Linked DNA regions of Homo sapiens: region 1 is linked to region 2. Evidence: promoter capture Hi-C in 16 types of primary human blood cells and fetal thymus (Javierre and others, 2016). All regions are on one chromosome and are shown on one strand. Each heading gives the region's core, a stretch centred on a gene start or on the middle of the fragment in contact. The rest is flanking DNA. Distances are from core to core; before and after follow the strand shown.

Region 1 (4,510 bases), core at 1,358-3,857, 2.9 Mb before region 2:
TGAAAGATGTAAGCCTCCTCCCAAGACTCCAGTTGCTATGCTCAGAGAAAAAGTGGGAATGGGACACTAGTTTTTTTCTATTATTTTCGGTATAACAAAACAACATATATGGATATCAAAAGAAAAAATCCTGCTAAAATCTTAACAGGTCAAATCACTTTCAAACTTCTATATTGTACCAGTCTATAAAGTACATATATGCTATAGGAAGAGATGCGGGGGGGGGTCCCAAAAAATTCAAGAGCAAAACCTAGTTACAAAATGTTATGTTAATAACTAGCTTCCAAAAGTGAATTACAATTATAGTATTGCACACACAGAACTGACTTAATAAAGAACTCTTTCTTGCAAAATATCATCTCAACCAAGGTAGGATACAGTAAAAGGAGGAAGAAAAGTCACTGAAAACACCACTCTACTAGAACTGGGCCAAAAACATCCCCCCTAGCTGCCCAAGGCAAAAAAAAAAAAAAAAAAAATCAAAACTAAATAAAGAGCCCAGCCAGGCACGGTGGCTCACACCTGTAATCCCAGCACTTTGGGAGGCCATAGCGGGCAGATCACTTGAGGTCAGAAGTTCGAGACCAGCCTGGCCAACGAGGTGAAACTCCATCTCTATTAAAAATTCAAAAAATGAGCTGGACGTGGTGGTGGGTGCCTGTAATCCCAGCTACTCAGGAGGCTGAGGCAGGAGAATCGCTTGAAGCCGGGAGGCAGAATTGCAGTGAGTCAAGATCGCGTCACTGAACCCCAGCCTGGGCGACAGAGAGAGACACTCTCAAATAAATAGCCCAGAACTAGCTGATTATTTATGAAAAACCTAAGAACTCTGTAATTACCCCATCTTTCCAGGTTGGAAAACAACAAAGCTGTTAGAATATTAAGGTGGCCTATGAGATTAGTCCTAACAACAATCTAGTTTTTAACAATTCTTCCAAAAGAGTTCTAAATCTTTACCTCCCATTTAGTAAACAAACTTCTCAGATTCAGACTTCTGATTAGAGGTAAAGGGTATGTGACAACACCAATGAACTGCAAATTCCAATGACTATTATTCTATTAACTTCAGAAGTGGAAAAACAAGGTATGTTAAGAGTTCAAGACCAGCCTGGCGAACATGGTGAAACACCGTCTCTACTAAAAATACAAAAATTAGCCGGGTATGGTGGTGGGTGCCTGTAATCCCAGCTACTTGGGAGGCTGAGGCAGGAGAATTGCTTCAACCCGGGAGGCGGAGGTTGCAGTGAGCCAAGATTGCGCCACTGGACTCCAGATTGGGCGACAGAGCTAGAACCCAGTGGCGGGGGGATGCCATGGGTCAGCTTCCAAGGGTCCTTCATCATCTGTTTTGATGGGAAAGCACCCTATATTGCATCCCAGCTTCCTTGGGCCTTTTCTTTTCTCTAGAATATTCTTTTCTCTAGAATATCCAGGTATTCTTTTCTCTAGAATATCCAGACTGGTGGAGACAAGAATCATTCCTCAGGCTACTAGTATCCCTTATAAAAGGGAATCTTACTCAATGTCTTTGACCCTATGAGAAGACGGGCAAATCATAGGCTATAAGCTGCTTGTAACATTTGAAGAAATAAACTATTTGCCTTCTTTGTGGTTAGTGTACAGAGAGACAGAGAGACAGACAGACAGATACAAGGAATATAGATCGTCTAGAAGTAAAAACAGGGAAGACTGATAAACCAAGAGAATAGACACCTATATCCTCAAGCGTACTCAAGTCAGCTCTGAAATTCACCCAGATGTGTGGCTCATTGCCTAGACCAACATATACATCTGGTAATAATAAACACTGATATGTCATAAACAAAAAGAGTTTCTTTAACTCTACAAAGTACTAGTAATATTAAAATTTACATAAAGACAAAGAATATATATGAAATAGATTTTTTTAGATGGTATTTCAACTTAAGTAACTGTATTAAGAAATGAAAAACTGGTATTTTACTGCCTAGTTTTCAAAACACTAAAATCTTTAATTTGACCAAGTTACAAATCTGTTTTCAGTAGAGGGAGAAAACACACTGCCTCCGTTCAATGCAAAGGACAAAAAAGATCATCACTGCAAATCATAATGTTTGGGTTCATGATGAAAACAGGAAACAGACAGGCTGCCCAGGTATAATTATGGTTGTAATCTAATGTGCCTTCAGGTTCAGCCAAGAATTAAAACCCAGTGAAGAGGGTAAGCAGAATTTACTTGCCTCTACTTTGCTGCAGAATGCAACTTTTAATAATACTCCCAGCAACATGTTACATAACCAACAGTAAACAACAATCTGATTCAAACCTCATTAGTAACAACATTCTGCCACTGTCTCCCACTGAAATTAATAGCTGACTTTGCCAGAGGGGAAAGAAATCCAACACATTATCAATCTACCCATTTCTGTGGCGCCTACCACAGTGAACCAGACACGCAGATAATACTACCAGATCTGTACAGAACCTACGAAAATATTTTATTCTTTTTTTCCAGTTTGCTGCTCTCTTCCTCCTTTTAACTAGACCATATCATGTGGATGCCTTTAAAACCTGAGAGTAAAGTCAGTTGAGAAGGTTAATCTAACTTTTCTTGCTTATTTCAGCTATGATCTGAAAGGAATGGAAGCACAAAATGATGAATAAGGTATTTTTAACAAAGATACATGGGTAAATTAACAGCAGTAATGTAAAAAAGACTGAGGGAGCAACAATGTGGAAAGGGAAGGAAAGGAAGCTGTATAGGAACAATCACACAAATAATCATCAAAATTAAACTTTATAAATCTAAACATAGTATCTACAACCTTTATGAAGGTTAAGTTTTGTTAAATTGTCTAAGTTTTGCATTTTTACAATTTTCACTGTAGAGAAAAAAATATTAATAGTTACCAAAGGAATAAAAGACTAAAATAATTTGTTATACATCTGCAAATAGCTCCTTAAATTTGGAACACTAATTTCATAATGATATTTGGATCCATAAATGTGAAACTGTCACACTGAATGTAGGTACTGTTTTCCCCACAATGGATACTACTGCATTGGCATCTAGCAGAAATTGTAAGCTATTTGGAATGTTACTAAACCTACTGGGACTAAGGTTTTCAATCTTTTGTCTTTCAAATTAAAATTAAAAACTAATTCACTCTGGGCAATTCAGGTACTCTAAGGAAATTCAAGTACTCTAGTTTTAAATACGAATTTTCAAAAACGCAACCCAAGTACCCTTTCCTCTCAACTTCTGTGAGGCCAAGCCACGACCTCCACCTATTCAATCTTTGCTGCTAGATAACAACCCTTTTGGTAGTGCTAGGCAACAGGCATGATGTGACAAACCTAGACATCAAAACTTTTCCACAGAAAGATAAGGTAAACAAGATATACTTAGCGCCACACCCATTTAAATGCACAAGCAACCAAAATTGCTCCCTCCCCCCGCAACACCCCCCCCCCCCCCCCAAAGCTCCAGCTGGTCAGGAAACATTGTCTTTACAATCAAGATAAACATCTGGCTCAGGGTGTTCAGCCATTCCTCACCTACAGGCTTGCCTAAGCCCCATTCTCCAATGCCATCACCACCAGAACCGGAACATTCTGTTGGGAAGCCGGCAAACGTCCAAATACCCCAAGTATCCTCGCCCGAGTTCTGCAACCAAAAATCTGTTTTGGCTACTGAGCATGCTCAGACTTAAGACGGGCGCGCCACATGGGAGTTTTCAAAGCTTAGGCTCCAAACTCCACGTAGTAACAGCAGCTGAAAGGAGGAGAGGGGAAAAGGGGAGGGGAAGAGACTGGAATATTAATTTGAGCCCTGATATTGAAGTATAGGACCCGGCCAGCGGCTGAATATGGTGAAGGCAAAAAGACGCTGCTTTGGCATTCTCTTTGCAGCACAGAGAAGTTTACATGAAGTAGAAGAAATCCTTGCAGTGGTGAAAACTGACATGGCAAGTGGCAGAAACCAGGTCTAACTACCAGCTGATTGCAGTAGCCGGTCACAACTGCCCAGAGTGTAATTCCCACCGATAAGCGCGGATCCTTATCTTTGAAACACAAAGCGACGGCGGCACGGATTCATCAAGCCATTGGACAGCTTCGCAGTGCAGCAGCCCAGGCTGCCCGGCCGAGCACCGCAGTCCTATCAAGGGTGTGTATCCAGGGTGGTACATCCGATGAGTTAGGAAAGCAAACCGCTCCCCAGGACAGCGCGGGGTCAGGGGGTCCCCTCCAGGGCGTCCCAGACGCCTCCCTCCAAAGTCTGGGCGGTAACAGCGGGGCTGGGACGAGGGCCAGCCCCGGCCCCGCCTCAGGACGCCCCGGGCAGCCAGCGAGGCCTCCGCAGCCGCTGGGCCGCACCGTGTCCGCCAGCCGGGACCCCGGCAGGCCAGGACTCGGCCTACCTCCCGCCCGACAGGCCCTGGGTCGTTTCCGCTCCGTCCGCGGCCGAACGCCCCCGCCTCGGCCCGAGTCCGCCGGGGCAGAGCCTGCAGCCCCCAGTTCCCCTCGCCCG
Region 2 (4,147 bases), core at 1,579-4,078:
CTTGGCCTGGCTGGCTTCTTCTCATTTTAAAGATCTTCACTTAAATATTCTCTACTCAAAGAGGCTTTCCGCCACACCAGCACCCACCCCCCACACACACACCTTAATAGCCCTCCCCTGCTACTCTCTTGGTATTCTCTCATCTTGTTCTTTCTATCCGTAATGCTTATTGTACTGTGTAATTTGTTTGCATGTTCTCTGCCAGCCTATTCTGAGACACCCCCCACCCCCAGCCCTTGCTCCCTCAGTCCAGCAGTTTGGACGCTGTAGCAACAGATACAGATGTGGAGTGAAGGAGTGAGCTCCCTGTACAGAAGGTATTCTGGGGATTGGAGCCAAAGTTGGACCTACTCTTGTTAGAACATTCTCAGAAGGTTCCTGACCTGGATGACTTGGCCTGTCAAAAGACTGTTTCCCATTTCCTTATGACTTCTTCAGTGGAAATACGTTAACTGGTATTTCTTTCCCTTCTGAGGGGGTGTGTTATGTAATTAACACCAGCTGCTATAGAAATCCCAAAATCTCAGTAGTGTAGTATAGTAAAGGCTGGTTTCCCATCCTCATCAAGTCCGATGGGGTCAGGCAGCTCTCCCTAAACAGTGACTAGACCATGTTCTTCACTCTCATCAAATGCATGACCTCCAAAGACGAGGAGAGGAGAGCATGGATGATGACTGTGTTATCCTCCAGAAAAATAAAACCAACAGAAGATGTATATGTCTTCTACGGAACCAATAAAACATTGGCTTCTGTTGAAGCCAGTGTTTCAGTTTCAGTCTGAAAGCAGGAAAAAGACCAATGTCACAGCTCAGCAGTGAGACAGGAGGGTTTCCCTCTTACCCAGGCTCATTTTTTCTATCTAGGTCTTCAACGAATTGGATGAGGCCTGCCCTCATTGGGGAGGGCAATCTTCTCTACTCAGTCTACTGATTCAAATGTCAATCTCATCCAGAAACACCCTCACAGACACACCCAGGATAATGCTCGAACAAATATCTGGGTGCCTTGTGGCCCAGTCAAGGTAACACATAAAACTAACCAAGACAATGACACAGAGGTTGTGTGGCCAGGCTTGGTCACCTCCTATCACCTACCATGTCAAACCCAATGACATGGCCCCATTCTGGCTCCAAGAGAGGCCACGAAATAGTCATAATGAGTGCACAGGAATTGGAAGATGAGCTGGCATTTGGAAACACACAGCATGGCCCCCTCTTGCTAGTTAGGTAAAAACTGTTTGCTCTTCTCCACTGACTTGCTCAGGAGATTCTGGATCCAACCTTAGAGATCTGTATGAATTTTTGTAAATTCTGAGTAGCTCTGTATAATTACATAAGGTAATACATTCTTTTCCCCCTTAAGACACCAAAGTAATAGGCAGTTAGGATACTCTCCTTTTGCAAATATCTTGAGCAGAGGTATGCCCATCATCTTTGGGTGTAGACTCAGTAGGGTGGGAGAGACCCATAGAGTGGCCAAGCTGACCAAGGCTACCCCACACACAGGAACCAGCGGAGGTGGAAGAGCTGGTATGCAGCACTGTGACAGCCATGCTCCTGCTGACCAGGAGGCCCTGTGCTCTCCACCTCAGCAAGGACCCTTTGCTCCTTCTGATGGATGCCTCTCCTGCCTGCCACACTGTGGCACCCCATGATACCCAGAATGGTGATCTCACAGCCCCTGGGCACTGAGTTCTGCTCTAACTTCCTGTTCGTCTGCACACAGCAGTCACATTGAGGTTTAGTTTTCTCAAAACTAAAAAGGTGTATTGGCCAGAGGAGGCTAAATGGAACCCCAGAGCCTAGAGGGATGCCCAGGTAACCCTGCCCCTGCACAGGCCGGCCCCTCCTGCAAACAAGGAGGATACTACATCAGACTAGGATGTCTCGATAGCAGGACACAGGTCTGCCAGGCACACAGGGAGGGCTCTACCAAGAAAGAGGGCAACCAGGCTTTACAGGAGTCACGGGCCCTTAACCTGGGGTCTGTAGACAGGTTCAGGCCTCTGCTCTCCCTCCCCACTTAACACTTGTCTTCTCTGCTAAGCCATGAGCTCCAGGTTAGCAAGCACTGGGCCTGTTTTTCTTGCCAGTATATTCCCACTGTATCCTGGCTCCTGGTACCAGCTCCATAAATAATTGTTGACTGAGCACTAGCCTAATAGTTCACTTGCTTAAAACTGCTTATTAAGTCCCTTCTGCGTGGTAGGCATTGTATTAGGTGCTGGGGATACAACATAAATAAAACAGATATAGTCTCTGCCTTTATGCAGCTTACAAAGGTGTTTGTTCACACCAGAGAGCAGAACTTGATAACTAAACTGTAATAAAAGTTGAAGCAACATCAAGCAACATAGGCCAGTTGAAAAAGTAAATTACCCACTGACCCGCAGGTAATTAACTAGTAATTTTATTGCCATCCCCAAAATGAAGCAAGCAAGAGGGAATGACAATGGCAGGAAGATTGAATCTGGTTACACGTAAGGAAACAGGAGATTTGGGACAGATGCAAGTGCTCTCTTGTGTGGCTTTGGAGCAAGTCTGGCTAATACAGAGCCACCTGTGCAGGCTGGATGCACCCTGGTGCTCTAAACAGGAATGTCAAGATGAAAGGCTTTAAGACATCCTGTCCCCAGCCTCCCATCCACAAACATTCAGCAGTTATTTGAAAGGATCCCAGAGTGACAATCTCTGGTAGACGGAACAGAGGAGACAAAAAGCACACCATCCCTCCCACCCGCCTTGCCCGGCTCACCAGGATACGCCAAAGCAGCTTCACTCTGTAAACACCAGCCAAAGTCACAAGGTCCGGGAGATGTTGCCCTGTTTGTTCAGGAGACACTGGGCATGCGCACTCCCCCTTGGCTCCTCCCCTACTCGCCAACTTCACAGTGTGACTCTGGTCACAGGGATGGGACCAGATCAATAGACTTTGTCACTCCAATGCCCCAGCTTCTTTGGTGGCACCTAGGTCACCTGAGGGGTTTGTTTCAGGAAAGCACATTAATTTAGAAGGAGAATAATGTGGGAAGAGGCCGCAGTTAGAGAGATGTGTCTAAGCGCCTGGCCTGTGCTCTCTCCAAATTGCCCTCATTCCCAAGCAGGCCCCTGAGCCTGAGTTTGCCCTCCGAGGCTCAGTCAAAAATATTGATGTGCAGGCAGGTTACTGAGCTTTTGACAGGGTTTTTTTCACCAATGGCATCATTTGAAAAATGGCAAATATCCAAGTAGGAATGTGTTCCATTAGTGTGTTTCTGACATAAGAAAACTAACACCAGCTTGACAAGAATTTGAGAAATTTAATTTCTATCACTACAAAGCACCAGAATCCTGTTTGAGAGGGTGCTGATGGGTTTATGAGTGTCTTATCGAGTTCAAGTCAGTGTGAGAAATAGCGCCTGAGATTAAGGGAAACCTGTAATAGGAACTAAAACCCAGTTCTCCAACAACTGAAATGTTATGGCCTCCTGCTTTCAGGAAGGGTGTTTGTTAGCCTGCTTATGGTAAGCCCATTAATTCCCTGTGACTGCCTCTTCTCTCCAAGCTCCAAGACTCAGGGAGAAAGGTGAGGACGGGTGTTTGTGGCATCTCATGTCTGGAAAACCAAGGGTATGCTACTGCACTGGTTTGAAGGGCCTAGAGAGATAGGTCATGGCCTTGAGCCCACCTACTGTGTGCCATGCCTTGTGCTAGGCACCAGAGTGCCAGACAGCCCTGCCCAGAATCCCACTGTGGGACACGCAGCCTAGCTAGTGGTCCAGGAAGCTCTGTCTTGTGCCAACCAACCCACACTGACTTGGGCCATCACTGCAGTGTGACCCATTTGTTTTCATCCCAGGGGGATATCATGGGAAGCCCTGAGCTTTGAGAACCCCCCAACTCCCTTGCCCTCCTCAGATTCCCTACTTGCAGAGCAGCTCTCCAATGTCAGTTCTCATAGCAGGGCGTCAGTCCCTCTGTGGGCACAGACTTCTGCCCAGTAGTGCCAGACAAGCTCCCTGATGGGCTGCTCTGACCCCCAACCCAGCCCTCTCTTTCCAAAGACACCAGCCTCAGTGTGTAGACACATTCTCACCCCAGACACAGCGTCTGGCTGAGCCCTCTCTCACTGACCCCTGATCACACTCTGAGTGCTGGGCATATCACGT

The links. Contacts are between HindIII fragments. The CHiCAGO score rates a contact against its expected background, and 5 or more counts as called.
Region 1: the fragment with the promoter of SMAD5-AS1 here is called in contact with the fragment with the promoter of FSTL4-AS1 in region 2 in 1 of 17 cell types (neutrophils); the score reaches 7.2 in neutrophils.

Annotation. Positions count from the first base shown.
Region 1 is chr5:136,132,987-136,137,496 of GRCh38, reverse strand. SMAD5-AS1 (SMAD5 antisense RNA 1) reads left to right here and starts at 2,607. Exons shown (of 2, transcript NR_026763.1): 1 at 2,607-4,147. All of the region lies in intron 1 of SMAD5 (SMAD family member 5), which reads right to left. RefSeq lists a silencer at 4,299-4,510. The HindIII fragment of the contact is 4,393 bases long and covers 1-3,724 here.
Region 2 is chr5:133,255,126-133,259,272 of GRCh38, reverse strand. FSTL4-AS1 (FSTL4 antisense RNA 1) reads right to left here and starts at 2,828. Exons shown (of 2, transcript XR_007058939.1): 1 at 2,755-2,828. All of the region lies in intron 6 of FSTL4 (follistatin like 4), which reads left to right. The HindIII fragment of the contact is 11,288 bases long and covers 1-4,147 here.